Regions from separate parts of the Homo sapiens genome. Here all the other regions are linked to region 6. The links are contacts of gene promoters, found by promoter capture Hi-C in blood cells and fetal thymus (Javierre and others, 2016). All regions are on one chromosome and are shown on one strand. The core of a region is centred on a gene start or on the middle of the fragment in contact, and the rest is flanking DNA. Distances in the headings are between cores, read along the strand shown. Region 1 overlaps SAR1B (secretion associated Ras related GTPase 1B). Region 2 has its middle 44 kb from the start of SAR1B. Region 3 overlaps JADE2 (jade family PHD finger 2). Region 4 overlaps SEC24A (SEC24 homolog A, COPII component). Region 5 overlaps JADE2 (jade family PHD finger 2). Region 6 holds the start of PPP2CA (protein phosphatase 2 catalytic subunit alpha). Region 7 has its middle 7.1 kb from the start of JADE2.

What was found. Contacts are between HindIII fragments. The CHiCAGO score rates a contact against its expected background, and 5 or more counts as called.
Region 1: a contact is called between a fragment that was not itself captured here and the fragment with the promoter of PPP2CA in region 6, in 7 of 17 cell types (total CD8 T cells, naive CD4 T cells, M1 macrophages and 4 more). The highest score is 10.3, in total CD8 T cells.
Region 2: a contact is called between a fragment that was not itself captured here and the fragment with the promoter of PPP2CA in region 6, in 6 of 17 cell types (fetal thymus, naive CD8 T cells, naive CD4 T cells and 3 more). The highest score is 10.1, in fetal thymus.
Region 3: a contact is called between a fragment that was not itself captured here and the fragment with the promoter of PPP2CA in region 6, in 2 of 17 cell types (neutrophils and activated CD4 T cells). The highest score is 5.3, in neutrophils.
Region 4: a fragment that was not itself captured here is called in contact with the fragment with the promoter of PPP2CA in region 6 in 2 of 17 cell types (activated CD4 T cells and endothelial precursors); the score reaches 6.0 in activated CD4 T cells.
Region 5: a fragment that was not itself captured here is called in contact with the fragment with the promoter of PPP2CA in region 6 in 1 of 17 cell types (neutrophils); the score reaches 8.1 in neutrophils.
Region 7: a fragment that was not itself captured here is called in contact with the fragment with the promoter of PPP2CA in region 6 in 1 of 17 cell types (neutrophils); the score reaches 8.7 in neutrophils.

What each region holds. Positions count from the first base shown.
Region 1 is chr5:134,606,781-134,609,480 of GRCh38, reverse strand. It overlaps SAR1B (secretion associated Ras related GTPase 1B), which reads left to right. Exons shown (of 7, transcript NM_016103.4): 6 at 978-1,109; 7 at 2,415-2,700. The coding sequence ends at 2,531. Among named protein-coding and RNA genes, the nearest start is that of SAR1B, 25 kb to the left of the region's middle. The HindIII fragment of the contact is 163 bases long and covers 1,359-1,521 here.
Region 2 is chr5:134,587,600-134,590,299 of GRCh38, reverse strand. No RefSeq gene overlaps it. Among named protein-coding and RNA genes, the nearest start is that of SAR1B, 44 kb to the left of the region's middle. The HindIII fragment of the contact is 3,043 bases long and covers 1-2,700 here.
Region 3 is chr5:134,568,934-134,571,740 of GRCh38, reverse strand. All of the region lies in intron 9 of JADE2 (jade family PHD finger 2), which reads right to left. Among named protein-coding and RNA genes, the nearest start is that of JADE2, 45 kb to the right of the region's middle. The HindIII fragment of the contact is 2,607 bases long and covers 1-2,599 here.
Region 4 is chr5:134,675,686-134,678,466 of GRCh38, reverse strand. SEC24A (SEC24 homolog A, COPII component) reads right to left here. Exons shown (of 23, transcript NM_021982.3): 7 at 2,342-2,444. Among named protein-coding and RNA genes, the nearest start is that of SEC24A, 28 kb to the right of the region's middle. The HindIII fragment of the contact is 2,710 bases long and covers 162-2,781 here.
Region 5 is chr5:134,536,974-134,539,673 of GRCh38, reverse strand. JADE2 (jade family PHD finger 2) reads right to left here. Exons shown (of 12, transcript NM_001388185.1): 3 at 1,591-1,685. Among named protein-coding and RNA genes, the nearest start is that of JADE2, 13 kb to the right of the region's middle. RefSeq lists enhancers at 1-864, 1,558-2,111. The HindIII fragment of the contact is 907 bases long and covers 856-1,762 here.
Region 6 is chr5:134,224,672-134,227,371 of GRCh38, reverse strand. It overlaps PPP2CA (protein phosphatase 2 catalytic subunit alpha), which reads left to right and starts at 1,299. Exons shown (of 7, transcript NM_002715.4): 1 at 1,299-1,612. The coding sequence starts at 1,511. It overlaps MIR3661 (microRNA 3661), which reads right to left and starts at 1,615; the gene lies at 1,520-1,615. PPP2CA-DT (PPP2CA divergent transcript) reads right to left here and starts at 962. Exons shown (of 1, transcript NR_186539.1): 1 at 1-962. RefSeq lists enhancers at 1-518, 360-519, 519-1,040, 1,041-1,560, 1,900-2,009. The HindIII fragment of the contact is 2,287 bases long and covers 90-2,376 here.
Region 7 is chr5:134,517,236-134,519,935 of GRCh38, reverse strand. It overlaps the pseudogene RN7SL541P. Among named protein-coding and RNA genes, the nearest start is that of JADE2, 7.1 kb to the left of the region's middle. The HindIII fragment of the contact is 3,864 bases long and covers 1-2,700 here.

The sequences.
Region 1 (2,700 bases), core at 191-2,690, 380 kb before region 6:
TTCTGCAGTCTCTGATGAAACTCTTGGCAATTTGTTGAGCTCAGTGATTGCTTTAAGTAGTGATTACTTAGAATGCAGAGGGAGTAACTGAGTAATTGTAGCTATTGAGGAAGTACTAACACAGACATCTTTTATGAAGACTTAAGAAGCTCACCCTGTACAGAATGTACCCTTTTAGTATATTTCATGTCTGTTATATTCCTGGAGTGGGTTGATCTTGAGTCCCTGGTCATGCTAAGATGCTATATCTTAAGCCACAGCCTGGAAATGATAGGACATGCCATCTTTGACACTACTCCCAGGAGTGAGCAGAGGCATATGTAGCTACCTCCCCTCCAGTATCCCAGGTCAGATATTTTGTAAAGGGGCCCAACAGCAGCAGGCAAGGTCAGCACCAGATCTGGGGCCACAGAGTAAGCAGGTCCATGATTTGATTGAAGGTTGATCATACCATGGCTCTGCCCAGAGCAGGCAAACAAATACTTGTACGTGTGGAAAAGTCCAGGTAGGTTCTATGGTTACAAAACAAGGACAGAGAATGCCTGAGTTCCTACTTTGTTCCAGAGACTGTGCGTATTACTTGATTTAATTCTCAATTTCATAGGGTGGATGCTACTGTTCCTAATTCTCTCTAGAGCTTCAGTCAGGCTAACTTGCCCAAAGTCACATCTCAAAAGCAGTAGAGCCAGAAGTGAAACCACATCTGTTCACTTCTAAGGTGCTGGCTCTATACGTTCTATGTCACTCCTTTAAAGGATGAGCAGAGTAAACATTTACAGGAAGAGCCTTAGGAAGACAGAAGAATTTAGCTTATGGTTTCATTGAGGTCACTTTAAAATGTGGGGAAAGTTTGACAAAGAACGTTGGTATGACATGATATGGTAGAAAATGAGTCCTTTATTGTTTTATCATATCAAAATAAGCTCTTTGGATGGTTTCATATCAACTCTTGTTTTGTATTGTTTTGTTTTTTTCAGTCACTAATGACAGATGAAACCATTGCTAATGTGCCTATACTGATTCTTGGGAATAAGATCGACAGACCTGAAGCCATCAGTGAAGAGAGGTTGCGAGAGATGTTTGGTTTATATGGTCAGACAACAGGAAAGGTAAAAAAAAAAAAAAAATTATGATGGGTGTGTTTAATTCTACAGTACAAATGTCTTCTTAAATTACTATTGTCCAACTATACAAGCCCATTATCATTTTCTTAAAGAAAACTGTCATTTATACCTGTGGGTCTTTTTAATGTCCTCATTTCTTTCTACCATGGAATGAAACATTTTCTTGGTGACAACAAAAATGTCAAGGATGAGTTATGCCTAAGGCTTGTGCTTATAGGAAACTAAATTAAAGCTTTCAAAGTTATTTATCATACATTTTCAGAATTAGCCACCAAACGATATATTTGAGTGTTTAAGTATACCAGTAGTGTGTTTAGGCCCTGAGTTTACCAGAGATAAATAAGACATAAACTTGGAATATTTTACGGTTTTCTGAACATATACTTTATAATAAGCTTTAAGACGGATTGTTTTGGTATTCACTTTTCCTAGGATTTATTTTGGGGGAAACATCAGCATTGAAAAAATCCAGATAAACAGTGGAAGAACCCCAGAGATTTACAAAATTTTTTTAGTTTACATATACTATTTCAGGGTGGAGAAATACTGCAGCATATAGCAGGAGGCTCTTTTTTTTTTTTTTTGAGATGGAGTTTTGCTCTTGTTGCCCAGGCTGGAGTACAATGGTGCAATCTCGGCTCATTGCAACCTCTGCCTCCCAGGTTCAAGCGATTCTCCTGCCTCAGCCTCCCTGGTAGCTGGGATTACAGGCGTGTGCCAGCACGCCCAGCTAATTTTGTATTTTTGGTAGAGACGGGGTTTCTCCATGTTGGTCAGTCTGGTCTCGAACTCCTGACCTCAGGTGATCCGCCCGCCTTGGCCTCCCAGAGTGCTGAGATTACAGGCATGAGCCACCACGCCCGGTCCGCAGGAGGCTCTTAAGTCAGACAAAGTAGACTTTGGTCTGTTTTCTGTCTTCTTTTTTATAAATTAGCTTGATATTAATTTTAGGAAATGCTTTGTTTGGTCATAAACCTTCTCAGGGAATGTTTGTCTTTAATATTAGTGAAGCCAGTTTGGATTTTTTTCTAAGTCAGATTATTTTTATTCTTGGGTATCTTGCAAGCTAACCTCTTTCCCACTGAGTGGCCATCCTGCCCTAAGGTAGAGTGAGAGAAGGAGGCTTCTTGTGTGTTCATGGGGCTTGGATGCCAAGCAGCCACGACTTTATCACAGTCATGGATTTATCACAGCCATTCTTTGTTCTAAAATAGAACCTATAATTCTGCTGGGATGTGGGGCTTTATTAATTTTATAAAATTCCAACGAAATGTCTCTCTTCTATTCTAGGGGAGTATATCTCTGAAAGAACTGAATGCCCGACCCTTAGAAGTTTTCATGTGTAGTGTGCTCAAAAGACAAGGTTACGGAGAAGGCTTCCGCTGGATGGCACAGTACATTGATTAACACAAACTCACATTGGTTCCAGGTCTCAACGTTCAGGCTTACTCAGAGATTTGATTGCTCAACATGCATAACTTGAATTCAATAGACTTTTGCTGGTTATAAAACAGATGTTTTTTAGATTATTAATATTAAATCAACTTAATTTGAATGAGAATTGAAAACTGATTCA
Region 2 (2,700 bases), core at 106-2,605, 360 kb before region 6:
AATTTCCTAGAGCAGTGTGCAAAAAGCCTTTTAGGGAAGGGAGGTGATTATAATTTCAAAAGAGCTTTGAGTTTGAGTTTGAGTTGGGGGACTTAGGGGAGTCACGGATGGTGCTCTAGGAAAAGCAGAGGCCCAACATGAACTCTTTTTAAAAAAAAACTGTTTTAAAATGGTTTCTTCTGATGGCCGGGCACGGTGGCTCACGCCTGTAATCCCAGCACTTTGGGAGGCTGAGGCAGGCGGATCACTTGAGGCCAGAGTTTGAGACCAGCCTGGCCAATGTGGCGAAACCCTGTCTCTACTAAAAATACAAAAATTAGCTCGTTGTGAGTGCCATAATGCCAGCTACTTGAGGGGCTGAGGCACAAGAATTGCTTGAACCCAGGAGGTGGAGGTTACAGTGAGCCAAGATCGTGCCACTGCACTCTAGCCTGGGTGACAGAGTGAAACTATCTTAAAAAAAAAAATTCCCCAGAAGTAAAATAAAATGGTTTCTTTTGCTTTACATTATGTTTGTTGCAACAAAGCAGTTGGGTGGTATTACATGTAGCAGGTTTTTTTTTTTTTCTACAGTATCATTTTTTTCTTAAACTGCAGCAAAACAAACAAACAAAAACCCCAAAAACACAAAATTCACTCTCCCGGGCTAGGTACGTGTAATCCAGCACTTTGAGATTCCTCGAGCTCAGAGGTTTGAGACCAGCTTGAGCAACTTGGCGAGACCCTGGCTCTACTAGAGAAAACAAAACAAAACAAAACACAACAAAAACAGCTGGTCATGATAGTGTGTGCCTGTGGTCCTAGCTATTCGGGAGGCTGAGGTGGGAGGAGCACTTGAGCCTGGGGGCATGCAGAGGTTGCAGCAAACCAAGATCGTGCCACTGTACTCCAGCCTGGGTGACAGAGTGAGACCCTGTCTCAAAAATAAAAAAATAAATTCACCCTCCCAACAATTTCCAAGTGTAAAGTACAATATTGTCAACCACATGCCATTGATGGGCAGCAGAGCCCTGGAACCACCCTCCCGTCCTGACTCTGTGCCTCCTAATCAATTCTCTTCCTCCTCCCCCCAGCCCCTGGCAACTACCTTTCTACTTTCTGCTCTATGATTTTGACTACTCTAAGTACCTCCTATAAGTGGAATCATACAGCATTTGACTTTTTTTGACTGGCTTATTTTGCTTAGCATAATTTCCTGCAGGTTGATCCATGCTGTAGCACAGGACAGGATTTCCTTCTTTTTTAAGGCTGAATAATATTCCATTGTATGTGTATACATTTTCTTTATCCATTCATCTGTCAATGGATATTTAGGTTGCTCCTACCTCTTGGCTATTGTGAACAGTGCTCCCACCAATCTGAACTCTTTAGATGTTGAGCTGAGACAGCAAATAAATGGGCTTGTGAGCTCTGGGGAGCAGAGGTCCTTCAAGGACACTACGGAGCTTCTGTTCAGCATTGGATTGGAATGTCAGGTATAAGGGAGGCTGTGGCTGAGTTAAGACAGGCCCAGCTGTGTCCTGGGTCACTGGCTGCAGCCCATTTTCCATTGTTCTCACACTGTAGGTGTCATCATGTTGGGGTTGTTGGGATAGTTTAGGATTTGCCACAGTGTATAAAACATGGAAAACCATGCTCCTGCCTCAGCCCCCTGCCTGGAACACAGTGGAAAGAGGGACCTGAGGCTTCCCACTAGGAATGCCAGGGAAAATACAGGATGCAATATTTGGAAAATGTACTGAGGAACTACTCTCTGAAATTTGAATGTAACTACATGCCCTATATTTTTATTTGCTAAATCTGACAGCCTCCCTCCTACCCACTGAAAATCTCTCCAGCCAGCAAATGGGGACCCTGTATCCCTACCCATGTTTCCTCAGAATGGGCTGGTGCGGATGCTTCTGAGCTCAGGCCTGGCTTGGAGTACTGGGGGCCAAGCAATACTCTGCTACGATGAGCTTGCCCTTAAGCCACCTGCTTGACTGAAACCCCATCCTTTCTTCCCTCCCTTTGACTCTTGGCAGGGAGTCCATCTGAACTCAAAAGGCTGCCTTGAAGTCCATATTTTATTATCTCTCTAAAAAAATTTTCTTCAGACAGGTATGGTGGTTCATGCCTGTAATCCCAGAGCTTTGAGAGACCAAGGGCTGAGGTGGGAGGATCACTTGAGCCCAGGAGTTGAAGGCTACAGTGAGCTGTGATTGCACCACTGTGCTCTAGCCTAGGCAGCAGAGTGAGACCCTATCTCAAAGAGTGAGACCCTGTCTCTTTTTTTTTTTTTTTTTTTTTTTTTTTTTTTTTTGCAGTAGAGATGAGGTCTCACTATGTTGCTCAGGCTGGGCCTGAACTCATGGGCTCAAGCGATCTTCCCAATTCAGCTTCCTAAAGCACTGGTATTACAGACATGAGCCACCACTCCTGGCCAATCTCCTTTTTTTTTCAGATGGAGTCTTGCTCTGTCACCCAGGCTGGAGTGTGATGGCACCATCTCGGCTCACTGCAACCTCTGCTTCCTGGGTTCAAGGGATTCTCCTGCCTCAGCCTCCTGAGTAGCTGGGATTACAGGTGCCCGCCACCATGCCTGGCTGATTTTTGTATTTTTAGTGGAGACGGGGTTTCACCATGTTGGCCAGGCTGGTCTCAAACTCTTGACCTTGTGATCCGCTTGCCTCGGCCTCCCAAAGTGCTGGGATTACAGGT
Region 3 (2,807 bases), core at 47-2,546, 340 kb before region 6:
CCAGGCCAAGGGAAGCCAGGATTGGATTTTCTTTTTTTTCTTTCGAGACGGGGTCTCGGTCTGTCGCCTAGGCTGGAGCGCAGTGGCACAGTCTTGGCTCACTGCAACCTCGGCCTCCCGGGTTGAAGCCATTCTCCTGCCTCAGCCTCCCACGTAGCTGGGATTACAGGTGCCTGCCACCACACCTGGCTAATTTTTGTATTTTTAGTAGAGATGGGGTTTCACCATGTTGGCCAGGCTAGTCTTGAACTCCTGACCTCCTGATCCGCCCACCTTGGCCTCCCAAAGTTCTGGGATTACAGGCGTGAGCCACCGCGCCCGGCCCAGGGCTGGATTTTCACAGAGTAGTGAGACACTTCCCTTCTCCCCTTAAAACCTCCAGTGGCTTCTGTACGGGATTGAATAGTGTTCCCCCAAATTCATTTTTACTGGGACCCTTGCAATGTGACCTTATTTGGAAATAGAGTCTCTGTAGATATAAATAGTTAAGATGAGGTCATACTACATTAGGGTGGGCCCTTGATCTACTATGAGTGGAGTCCTGACACAGGTGCCTACAGGGAGAAGGCCATGTGACCTGGCAGAGGCAGAGGCCAGACAGATGTCCGCAGGCCAAGGAACAGCAAAGATTCCTGGCAACCACCAGAAGCTGGGAGGCACGGAGAGACTCCCCCGCAGAGCCTCCGGCAGGAACTAATCCTGCTGACACCTCAACCTTGGGCTTCCAGCCTCCAAAACCATGAGGATAAATCTCACCATCCAGCTGGTGGCACACGGGCAGGCCTAGGAAACTAACAGGGATGCTGGGCATGAGATGCCGGTGGCCTTTAAAAGGGACTTGGTGTGGAGCTCAAAAGGGAGGGGCAGCCAGCACCCCCACGTGGGGCAAAACTGTGGGCAGCCGTGAAAGACAGTGGAGCCTGAGGTCTCCAGCCCTGGGAGTGAGCAGTCAGGGGAGAGCAATGGATGACCATTGAGGCCAAGGAGCAGCCAGAGAGGGAGGGGGGTAAACCAGGACCTCAGGGGGGACCTGGTCAGAGCATCACAGAAAAAGGACTCCAAGACTAAGGGCAGGTCTGATTGTGGCAGCCGCTGCTGAGAGGATCGGGGGATGGAGAGGTGGGCAGGGAGGCTGCAGGCAGCCCAGGTGGCAGGCTCTGGGATGTGGCGGAAACCCGGCCAGAGTGGGCAGCAAGGATGCAAATACCATGAGGGATGACAGGAAAGGAGAGATGGGGGTGGGAGCGGAGGAACCCACGACTAGAGGGAAATAGGGAGGGAGGATTCGCTTTTGAAGATGAGAGAGGGTTGAACAGATTCAAATATTGGTGGAAAAGGACCCGCAGAGGGGATGAAGAAAAGACAGACTCGTCAGCTGCAGGTGTGGGCTGGAAAAGAGCCCCTGTGGGGGAAGGAAGACAGGAGGGAAGGGAAGAGAATGGACCGAGAGGCTCGGCTGGCAGAAGTTAGAGGCCCTGGTATGAGGACAGAGGGGACGCTGTCCTGAGGGAGGCAGGGCTCAGCATGTGGGCAGCAGGTATGAGGTGGGGTGTGCGGCAGGGACTGCCCTGCTCAGCGCTATGGGATTTCTCCTGGTGGAGGGAGTGGCTCTTACTGGGTGAGGCTCTGCCAGGGTTCTGGCCTCAGTGAGGGACAAGGGCTGGGGCATAGCAGGCCAGTGCCATACAGGGAGTGAGTGAAGAAAGCAGGACAAAGAAGGGTGGAGGGCCTGGGAGACAAGTGAGCAGGGAGAGCAGTAGACTGCAGGCACGGAGCAGGATGTGGCAATTTCTGGGCTACTGACCTGGGAGCAGCTGGAGGTGGTGACTGGGCTTGGGTGAGGCAAGGGCACTAATGGGTTGGGGGAGCCCTAGAGATGGAAGGCACAGGGGCAGAAGAGCCAGAGGTCTGCAGGCTGGAGCTGCCCAGGACAAGGTTGGCTTTGGTGGGAGGCCAAAGGGACCACCATCCAGGCACTGAGGCCAGGACCCACTTCCTTCTGAGCCTTTCCCTCCTTGGGAAGTTGTCCCATATCATCCTCTGGGCAGGTGTGTGTCTCAGAGCCGCCTCCACCCTCTTGGCCTCCTCCTCAGGCCAGGTCAGGCTCCCAAATAAACTCCTGGTGACCAGAGCCAGAGCCACAAGCAGCAAGTCCCTGCACAGCCTGCTTGTCAGCACGGTTGCTAGGGGACACCAGCCGGCACTTGTCGGGCTGATCAACAGTGCTGCGATTTTTGTCAGCCGTAAATAACTCTGGGAGGCTGCAGTGGCCATGCCTTCCGAGCGTCCGCTGGGGCCGAGGCCCAAGGCTGAAATTTTAGGAAAGCACATCTGGTTGACCATAAAATGGGATTTCATGCCGGCAGCAGCCCCGGCTCCTGTTTCTCTCAGCAAAACCCCTGCCTGGCTGAGGAGGAACGAATCAATCTGGGAGGATGCTGGGTTCCCAGGCCCTAGCACTGGGCCTGCCCTTTTGGTCCTCTGTGGAGCCCACCCTCAGAGCGCACGGGCTGGCCTCCCTTCTTCTAAGAGCCAAATGCTGAGGGGCCAGGACAGTAACAACAATCACGGCCAACAATGGAGGGCACTGTGCTAAGCTTTGTCCCCCACATGCACTGTGACCCCAAGGTCAGTCTGATCCTTATTCCCATTTTACAGACAAAGAAACTGAAACTCAGAGAAGTAGAAACTGAAACAAAGAAGGTATAGAGCTGGGAGTGCAGGAACTGGATGCAAAGTCAGGCTACCAAGGCCTCGACCTCAAGCCCTGCCCCATCTTCCGATGATTCCTGCCCAGGCTGGCTTAG
Region 4 (2,781 bases), core at 267-2,766, 450 kb before region 6:
AGAGTTTTTAAATAAATAAATAATAAGTTAAAAAAATAAAACCAAGATGGTAAATTTACAATGTACTTTTGGCATAAATGGCAAAGAAAAAAAAATCAACATTCTAAAATATATGACCAATGAAACTATTACAAAGTTTGTTGATGTTACATTAAGAAGCTTACTTAGTTCTCAACTATAATAAAGTAAGGTGAGGTTAATTTAAATAACCAGTTAAACTTTGGAATTACACTCCTAGTTAAAGTTTATCCTACATATTAAAAGTTCTAAAGTCTTAGCTGGGTATAGTGGCCAATGCCTACAGTACCACTTACTCTGTCTGGAGGCTGAGGCAGGAGGACTGCTTGAGCCCAAGAGTTCAAGGCTGCAGTGAGCTATGATCATGGAACTGCACTCTAACCTGGGTGACAACGAGAGACCCGGTCTCTAATAAATAAATAAATAAATAACAGTAAATACGTGGGAAGGGTCTTTGTAAGACTATCAGATTTGGGGAGATTTGTTTTGATTTACCAGAAACCCTGAGACAGGTGAACACTGATCAACTTAACTGAGAGCCAGTGCCTTGGACAACAAAGTGACATAGCATCTCATCTTTAAAGAAAGGTTTTATTTATCTTTTTTTTTTTTTTTGAGACAGTCTCACTCTATTGCCCAGACTGGAGTACAGTGTGGGATCTTGGCTCACTGCAACCTCCACCTCCCGGGTTCAAGCGATTCCCTTGCCTCAGCCTCCCCAGTAGCTGGGATTATAGGTGTGCATCACCATGCTTGGCTAAATTTTCTATTTCTGGTAGAGACGAGTTTCACCACGTTGGCCAGGCTGGTCTTGAATTCCTGACCTCAGGTGATCTGCCCGCCTCAGCCTCCCAAAGTGCTAGGATTACAGGTGTGAGCCACTGCACCTGGCCTTTATTTTTTTTTTTTAAGATAAGGATCTCATACCCAATCCTGGGCAATGCAGTTAAGACTCTGCTTCTTAAAAAAAAAAAAAAAAATCAATACAGGCAATAAAATTATATCACCACCAAAAAAATCCTATCACCAAAAGTAGTGTGTTTTGGGAAAGTCAGCAATCCTCAAGAGTATGTGGCCACAGAGCTTTAGGACAAAGGTAGATCAGTTTCTTTTTTCTTCTGAAATAACTTTTCTTTTTGGATACAGGGTCTCACTCTGCCACCCAGGCTGGAGTGCAGTAGTACAATCATGTCTCACTGCAGCCTCAACCTCCTGGGCTCAAGTGATCCTCCCACCTTAGCCTCCCGAGTAGCCAGGACTAAGCTGGTCTTGAACTCATAGACCCAAGCAATTCTCCCACCTTGGCCTCCAAAAGTGCTGGGATTACAGGCCATGAGCCACCATGTCTGGCTTAAAACAACTTTTTAAAATAACAAATTTTACTGCAAGGATGGCAGAACGGGGAGACTAGGGTAAAGTACTTTAATGGGTAAATAATTCACAACCTATTAAAATAGTATGATTCATTTATTTAGTTTCTCTCAGTACCTCTATTCTATTCAGTACTTTTTGAATTTTCCAGCAATATACTTACTTTACCTAGTATTTGAAAGTGTTTAGTAATAAAATTTTTGGTTGAATTGTAAGTAATCTGTCAATCATCGACTTCCTAAAGACAGATCAAACAAATTCTATATGTAATTCTTGCATCATTGCAGAAAATTTTCATCACCAAGATAATTTTGCACAAAAGACATTTACCTTCACTAAAGAGGCCGGGTGTAGTGGCTCAGGCCTATAAATCCCAGCACTTTGGGAGGTGGGCAGATCACTTGAGGTCAGTTCGAGACCAGTCTGGCCAACATGGTGAAACACCATCTCTACTAAAAATAAAAAAATTAGCTGGGTGTGGTGGCAGATGCCTATAATGCCAGCTACTTAGGAAGCTGAGGCAAGAGAATTGCCCGAACCTGGGAGGCGGAGATTGCGGTGAGCCGAGATCTCGCCACTACACTCCAGCCTGGGCGACAGTGAGACCCAGTCTCAGAAAAAAAAAAAAAAAAAAAAAAAGAGCCGGGCGCAGAGGCTCACGCCTGTAATTCCAGCACTTTGGGAGGCCAAGGCAGGTGGATCACGAGGTCAGGAGTTCAAGACCAGCCTGGCCAAGATGGTGAAACCCCCTCTCTACTAAAAATACAAAAATTAGCCAGGCACGGTGGCAGGCACCTGTAATCCCAGCTACTAGGGAGGCTGAGGCAGGAAAATCACTTGAACATGGAGGGCAGAGGTTGCAATAAGCTGAGACTGCGTCACTGCACTCCAGCCTGGGCGACAGAGGGAGACTCCGTCTCAAAAAAAAAAAAAGAAAAGAAAAGAAACATACCACTAAGTCTTTGAAAGGATGAAGCAGCAGCCCCAAAGGAAGTTTGGCTTTATTCAATAAGGCCTGCGTCTGAGGAATGCTAGTCAGCGTGCATCGAAATAACCTATATCAAAGTAAAAAGTATGTATCAGTTGCTGCTATGATTATTTTTGAAGAAAACAACAACAAAGATTTAAAAGGTATACATTTTAATACTGGATCAGATTACAGATGAAATATTTCAATAGAGTCTCAAAATTTTATCCCATTTAAATATTTAAATCTAAGTCCTATGCAGAAATAGAGTGGATGGTTATCCTATAACTAAAATATAGTCTCTTTTTGGCTTGTGTGTAAAACAGTCTAAACTATCAAATGACTTATTTTTTGTTTTGTAAGTCTAGTTGACACTGGAATTAAATTAAACTTAGGTGATGGCCCAAATTGCAAAGTCTATTATT
Region 5 (2,700 bases), core at 60-2,559, 310 kb before region 6:
TGTGAGCCCCAAGGATTTAAGGTCTTGGCTAAATGACCTTGCGATCCTCACTTTCCTTATTTTCAACAGGACTGAGAAATTCTGGGCTAGTTTTAATGATTAAAAAGGAGTGTCCAGCCCCAGTGCCTGGCTACTTCTTGGCTGTAGTACAGTGTCCTACTTAAGAGCCAGGATTGGCCGGGCGCGGTGGCTCACGCCTGTAATCCCAACACTTTGGGAGGCCGAGGCAGGTGGATCACCTGAGGTCAGGAGTTCAAGACCAGCCTGGCCAACATGGTGAAACCCCATCTCTACTAAAAATACAAAAATTAGGCCGGGCGCGGTGGCTCATGCCTGTAATCCCAGCACTTTGGGAGGCCAAGGCGGGCGGATCACAAGGTCAGGAGGTCGAGACCATCCTGGCTAACACGGTGAAACCCCGTCTCTACTAAAAAAATACAAAAAATTAGCCGGGTGTGGTGGCGGGCGCCTGTAGTCCCAGCCACTCGGGAGGCTGAGGCAGGAGAATGGCGTGAACCCAAGAGGCGGAGCTTGCAGTGAGCCGAGATCACGCCACTGCACTCCAGCCTGGGCAACAAAGCAAGACTCCATCTCAAAATAAATAAATAAATAAATAAATAAATAAATAAAATAAAAATAAAAATACAAAAATTAGCTGGGTGTGCTGTGTGCACCTGTAATCCCAGCTACTCGGGAAGCTGAGGCAGGAGAGGCATTTGAACCCAGGAGGCAGAGGTTGAAGTGAGCCGAGATCATGCCACTGCACTCCAGCCTGGGGAACAGAGAGAACCTCAGTCTCCAAAAAAAAAAAAAGAGCCAGGATTAAGACCCTCCATCTCTCCATCTCTCCAAGCTTCTGCAGCCCCATCTGTGCCAAAGGCTTCTTCTGTGGTCAGTGCAATGAATACCTTGTGGCATTAGCACTGAAGACCTACAAGAAGGAGCAATAAGGCCCTAGGGTGGGAGTTTTCAGGGACCCCAGAAGGAGGGTCCAGGTGTCCAGGAGTCTACCCACCCCCAGTGCGCTTCTCAGTTCCAGAGGCCATAAACCTCTACCTGCTGTAAGAAACATCCCAGGTCAAAGTAAGGAAGGCTTCAAATGCAGATGCCTGTGAAATGGGTATAAGGAACCTATGACTAATTGGATGGCTCTGAGGACTCCACCCCTTATCCCTGCACCAGCAAATCCTTATCACTCTTGGCTCGGCCTCCAAAATGTCACAAACCCTGCTGCTTCTCATTCCACTGCTACCACCCAGCTCTAAGCCACCACTATTTCCCTGCTGGATGACTGCAACTCTCCCTTCTCTCACAGCGGCCAGGGGGAACTTTCACTAAAACATCAGGCTGTGTCATTACCCTGTCTGAGATCCTTGAAAGGCTTCTCCCCTTGCTCAGTTCAATAGGAACATCTTCACAACAACCTGGAAGGCTGAGGGAAACTGGCCCCTACTCCCCTTCATTCCACTCGGCCACGCTGGCCTCCCTCTGCACTGCCCGTGCCCTCTGCCAGGAATGCTCTGCCCCAGTCTCCGCAGGGCAGCTCACTCTCACTCCCCACAGATCTCTGGGAAGCTCATCACTACCCACCTCGGAGGGCTTCTTTTCGTTCTGTCGGGGCCAGCCCGACTTGGTGCTGCTGGGCAGTTTGGAGCATCTTGATGCGGATGTAGATGTCGCATGACCTGCAGAGAGAGAACAGTCCATTAGGGGTCCTGGAGGGCCAGGAGCACCACCCACTCATGCCCAAGAATAGGAAGCTTCTAAGCAAAGCCCCGGCTAGAATGTTCATGAGGGAGAAACCTCTGTGAGACCTAGTATCCCTGCTCTGGGCCTCAGTCTCCCCACTGATGAATGGGGACATGAAGCCTCCTCTACTCGCCAACCAGAAGGCTGGAGAAATCAAAGGCTGTTACTGGGGCTCAGTATTAGTTTAATGTGTGACCCCAGACAAGTCCTTGGCCCTCTGTGGGACTCTGCTCAAAGACAGCTGGAATAAGCCTTTCATGCCCACACTCCACCCTGCCCCAGGTTAGGTACTGTCCAAATACTCTGGGATGATGCCAGTGGGTATTCAGAGGCAGAGCAGGGCAATGGGAAGAGAGATGCTCTGAAGCAGATCCAGGTCATCAGCAGAGCCCTGACCCAGCCACTTACTAGCTTGTCACCCCAGGCAAATGACTCAATCTTGCTGAGCCTTAGTTTGTTCTTCTGTAAAATGGGGGCAAAAGAATAACTATCTTCAAAGGGCTGTGGTGAGGAATAAGTGATATCATGCCTGTAAAGTCTCAGCACAGTCCCTGGCACAGAGTGATTCCTCAATAAACATTAGCTATAATTATTAGGGTCTAAGGCCCTTGCTGGATGACAGTGCTGTGGCCTCCGCCCTTATGAATCAAAGGAGCAGCAAGAAATAGGGCAACACTATGGTTTTGGCTGAATAGGAGTAGCAGCCATGGGTGGGCACAGTGGAGGGGGCTGGTGGGGAGCCTTGCAGGTACCTGGCTCTCTCAAAGGGCTCCTCTGCCTGCAATAAAGTTAGAAATGGAGGATGTGGTTTTTGGTTCCACTGAGCCAGGCCACAGGCAGCATGTTGTAGCCACAAAAGGCCAGATGCTGTGATCTCCTGCTGTAGGGAAGAAGGGCTGGCCAGGTGGGACGCCAGAGCCAAACTGAGCAAACAGAGCCCAAAGGACAACA
Region 6 (2,700 bases), core at 50-2,549:
CCTGATACTGAGGGTGGGGTTCCTGGAAGACAGGCGATCAGGTTCAGCTCTTGCCTTGCCCTTTATGGTTAAATGTTCTTTGGAAAGCTTCTATATCTTTCAAATCCTGGGGGCATTATGATCTCTCTTCTGCCTATCCCAAACCATCTTCAGCCAGTACTGTTGGGAGAATACAAGCTCCAGGGCATGGTCCCTGGTCCGTCTGGATGACCCCTCCGGATCTGGCATATAGCTGGCGCTCTATGGAACCAGATATTTATGTAAAAGCAGGGACAATGGAATGTGAAAACGTTTCGCAAACTCCAAAGCGATTCATAACCAGACAGAGGTCCAATCCTAGGGTATACGAGCTCTCTCTTTTAAGCACGTATCACAGCTGCTTCTCACGCCACCGAGACGCGGTCAGGACAGGTGCATCCATCTTCTCTGGGCTTCCCCTCTTGAAAGTAGGCCAGGGCGCGCAGGGGTTGAGGGTCTCTCATTCCCAGAGAGAATTAAACTTGGAGGAAAGCAACCACCGGCGAGGAGCGGGGCGCGTGGAAGCGAGCCGCGGTCCGAGGCCCAAAGAAAAGCCCAAGCCTCGCCCCCGCCATCGCGCCCGACGAGACACCTAGGTCCGGGGACGGGTGTGTGCCGCGGAAGTCAGGTGCACTGCGCAGCACTCCCCCGGTAGGTACACGCTCCTCCACCTACGAGTGACCTAATTACAAGGTGCCAGCCGCGCCCAGAGGTGGGGGTGGTTAATCCAAGCGGCCACTCGCTGCCCGTTCCTGCCCCCAAAGATGACGGAAACCCACACGATTACAGAGCCGCAGCACCCCAGATGAGCCACGGGGTCGCAATTCTCGTTTCCGTGATCGGACTGCCAGGCCCCAGGTGAGGAGCTGAGTTCATCACCAGAGCGGCCTTCCCAGGGGAACCAGTTACAGGCTGCCAGTGGCCCCGGCTTCCATCCGGTCTGCGCCTGCGCGCGGCCCAAGCCCTCGCCTCTCCTGGAATAGTGCTCAGGGATTAGTCCGGTTCGCCGCTGTGCGCACTGCGCATGCTCCAGCTCCATCCTTCCCTTCCCCCACCACCCCGCCCTCCGGGAGCCACGCCCAAAAAGTCAAGGCGCTTCAGTTACCAGCCGGCTACGTCGCGCCTGCGCTTTGACCCCCAGTTTGCGCCCCAACTCCGGTCGTGCGGCCGCCCGGGGAGGGCTCTGCAGTTGCGCAGCTTGCTCCCCGGCCCTTTTCCCCTCCGCTCCCCGCCGCCTCCTGACGCCGGGCGTGACGTCACCACGCCCGGCGGCCGCCATTACAGAGAGCCGAGCTCTGGAGCCTCAGCGAGCGGAGGAGGAGGCGCAGCGGCCGACGGCCGAGTACTGCGGTGAGAGCCAGCGGGCCAGCGCCAGCCTCAACAGCCGCCAGAAGTACACGAGGAACCGGCGGCGGCGTGTGCGTGTAGGCCCGTGTGCGGGCGGCGGCGCGGGAGCAGCGCGGAGCGGCAGCCGGCTGGGGCGGGTGGCATCATGGACGAGAAGGTGTTCACCAAGGAGCTGGACCAGTGGATCGAGCAGCTGAACGAGTGCAAGCAGCTGTCCGAGTCCCAGGTCAAGAGCCTCTGCGAGAAGGTGAGCTGTAGTACGGCTGCGGACAGCCGCCGCGGGGCCGAGCCCGCCGAGGAAAAGGCGGCCGTGAGGAGGGTGCAACATGGCGGAGGCCGCCGGTCCGGGCCCCCCGAGTCTCCGAGACCGGCGCCCATCCTGGCCGGCGGCGGCTTCCTAACGACCCGGCGCCCCCTGCCTCCCGCGCAGGGATTGGTTGCCGCCGCCGCCTAAAATGGCGCCGTTCACTCGACTCCTGGGCTTTTGAGTCAGCCGGCCTTGGCGCCAGACGAGGTGGCAGGGGGAGCGGAGACCCTGTGGGTCATCGTCAGGGACGGTTTTGAGGGTGAGCTGGCTTGGATTCTGCGGCTTGGGAATGGAGCCTGGGCCTCTCCGGTGGGCTGAGTAAGAGTCTTGCCGCTGGTACCCAGGCCTAGTTAGGTCCAGAGCTGCCCAGAGGATCCCCCAAAGGCAGTCTTGTTAGGCCGTATCCCAGAACATACCTAAAGGTCACACAGCTTTAGTACCCCTTGGTGGTTTGTATTAAACTCACCAAGCGATCTTCTCCAGAAATCAAGGTAAGGGGTGTCTTTAAGAATTTTTAAATTATTCTCTTAACCTAATTTTTACGAAGGTCATGGTGGTAGCTATAAGGGAGGAGTGTAACTTATTTTTCATAGTTGGAAGAAATCGGGAATTTGGTGAGTCATACTACATAAGGAGCTTTTGGATTGGAAATCAAGTGTCGGTTGAATATGATTTATATGCTGACTCAAAGCCTTCTCTAAGCTTAACACACTTGGCATTTTGCCGTTTATTTTTAAAATGAACAACATAAAATGGAAGAGCGGTAAATTTTGTATCTTTGTTGCAAAAATTACTTGATAGTATTTTGTGGCTGCAAGTAGTAGTAGTGATAATAACTGTCGACTGAGATTGTATTCCAGACATTGTGCTTAGTGTTTAAATAATGTCTCACATACACTGAAAATAGAATGTTGTAGTCCACTTAGTAACACTAAACTTTATATTAGCTAATTCCCTTTTGTTTTCCCCTGGGGGTTGGGGAAACAGGTAGTTAATTTAGCTATTAGCTTTGTGTTGTATTTTTAAAT
Region 7 (2,700 bases), core at 149-2,648, 290 kb before region 6:
TTAAAAATGCAGATTTTTTTTTTTTTTTTTTTTTTTTTTTTGAGACAGACTCTTGCTCTGTCGCCCAGGCTGGAACGCAGTGGCACGATCTGGGCTCACTGCAACCTCCGCCTCCCAGGTTCAAGCGATTCTCCTGCCTCAGCCTCCCAAGTTGCTGGTATTACAGGTACACATCACCATGCCCAGCTAATTTTTGTATTTTTAGTAGAGACAGGGTTTCTCCATGTTGGCCAGGCTGGTCTCGAACTCCCGACCTCAGGTGATCCACCCGTCTCGGCCTCCCAAAGTGCTGGGATTACAGGCGTAAGCCACTGCACCTGGCCCCAGCCTTTTTTTTGAGATGGAGTCTCACTCTTGTCGCCCACGCTGGAGTGCAGTGGCACCATCTTGGCTCACTGCAACCTCTGCCTCCAGGGTTCAAGTGATTCTCCCGCCTCAGCCTCCTAAATAGCTGGGATTATAGGTGCCACCATCATACCCAAGTACTTTTTGTATTTTTAGTAGAGATGGGGTTTCACCATGTTGGCCAGGTCTCGAACTCCTGACCTCAAATTATCCGCCCGTCTTGGCTTCCCAAAGTGCTGGGATTACAGGCGTGAACCACCGTGCCCGGCCAAAAATTGCAGATATCTGAGCCTTATCCCCAGAGGTTCTCAGTAGGCAGGTCTGGGGCAGGGCCCGCAACTTTTTTTTTTTTTTCAATTAAAAAAAATATCTGCAGTGTTTTATTTTTTTGAGATTACAGGAGGCTGCCACCATGGCTGGCTAATTTTTGTATTTTTAGCAGAGATGGGGTTTCACCATGTTGGCCAGGCTGGTCTTGAACTCTTGACCTAAGGTGATCCACCCACCTTGGCCTCCCAAAGTGCTGGGATTACAGGCATAAGCCACTGCGCCCAGCCAAAACCTGCAGCTTTTAACAAGTACTTGGTCATTCATAATGTACATGGCATTGAACCACACTTTGTGAAACACTGAGAACATGTCCACATGGTTCCATGCACTGGCCTGGCGCTCAGTCATTGCTCATTAGACAATAGCTATTTTTCCAGGGGTCCTGGTTCGGAACAAAAATTCTTTTTTTAGTTTTTGTAGAGACAGGGTCTTGCTATGTTGTCCAGGCTGGTCTCGATCTCTTGGGCTCAAGCAACCCTCCCGCCTTGGCCTCCCAGAATGTTGGAATTACAGGAGTGAGCCACTCCACCTGGCTAAAAAAAAAATATATATATATATATATATATATACACACACATATATATGTGTGTGTGTATATATATATATTTTTATATATATACATATATATATATATATATACATATATATATATATATATATATATTTTTTTTTTTTTTTAAGACACAGTTTCACTCTGTTGCCTAGGCTGGAGTGCAGTGGCGCCATCTCGGCTCACTGCAACCTCCCCCTCCTGGGTTCAAGTGATTCCCTTGCCTCAGTCTCCCGACTAGCTGGGATTACAGCTGTGCACCACCACACCCAGCTAATTTTTTTTTTCTTTTTGAGATGGAGCTTCGCCCTTGTTGCCCAGGCTGGAGTGCAGTGGCACGATCTTGGCTCGCTGCAACCTACGCCTCTTGGGTTCAAGTGATTCTCCTGCCTCAGCCGCCCGAGTAGCTGGGATTACAGGCACCCGCAACCACGCCAGGCTAATTTTTTGTATTTTTAGTAGAGACGGGGTTTCACCATGTTGGCCAGGCTGGTCGTGAACGCCTGACCTCAAGTGATCCGCCCGCCTCGGCCTCCCAAAGTGCTGGGATTACAGGCGTGTGCCACTGCGCCCGGACTAAAAATCCTTTCAAATAACTTTCAGTACATGTCCAGATGCAGAAGTACAGCATACCCTAAAAACCCTAAACTGAGAGAATAGTATAAGATTGGTTCAACATTCATTCCCAGGATATTTATTGCCTGCTATGTTCCGACCTGGGTCAGTTCACCCCTCCTTAGGCAACTTCGTGGTCCCCTGCTCCCAGGAGGTCACCATATTGATGCCAAACTTAGTGCAGACACCCAATCCACATAATGAACTACCACACAGAACTCCTGGGCTCAAGCAGTCCTCCCGCCTCAGCCTCCAGAGACTACAGGCACGTGCCACCACACCTGGCACTTGCTATGTTCAAGGCGGTATACAAGGGTTGGAAAGAAACAGAAAATACCTGACTCAACAATTTGAGTCATCAAGGTAGGCAGAAGCCGCAGATGTAGTTAGCCACACTCCCCAGCAGCCCACTTCTGTGCCAGGTGAGAAGTCCTCATTTGGGTTCTAGACTTGTATTCACATACTCACTGCTTAGGGCAATGCTTGTCCGACTACACTATGCACACAAATTACCTGGGATCTTGTTCAGATGCAAAGTCTGATTCATTAAGTCTGGGAGAGCTAAAAGTCTGCATTCTTTTAAATTTATTTTTTATTTATTTTATTTTATTTCAAGCGATTCTCCTGTCTCAGCCTCCCGAGTAGCTGGGATTACATACGCATGCCACCATGCCCAGCTAATTTTTTGTATTTGAGTAGAGACGGGGTTTCACCGTGTTGCCCAGGCTAGTCTCGAACTCCTGAGCTCAGGCAGTCCACCTGCCTCGGCCTCCCAAAGTGCTAGGATTACAGGCGTGAGCCACTGTGCCCGGCCTTTTTTATTTTTATTTATTTATTTATTTTTTGAGACAGGGTCTCAC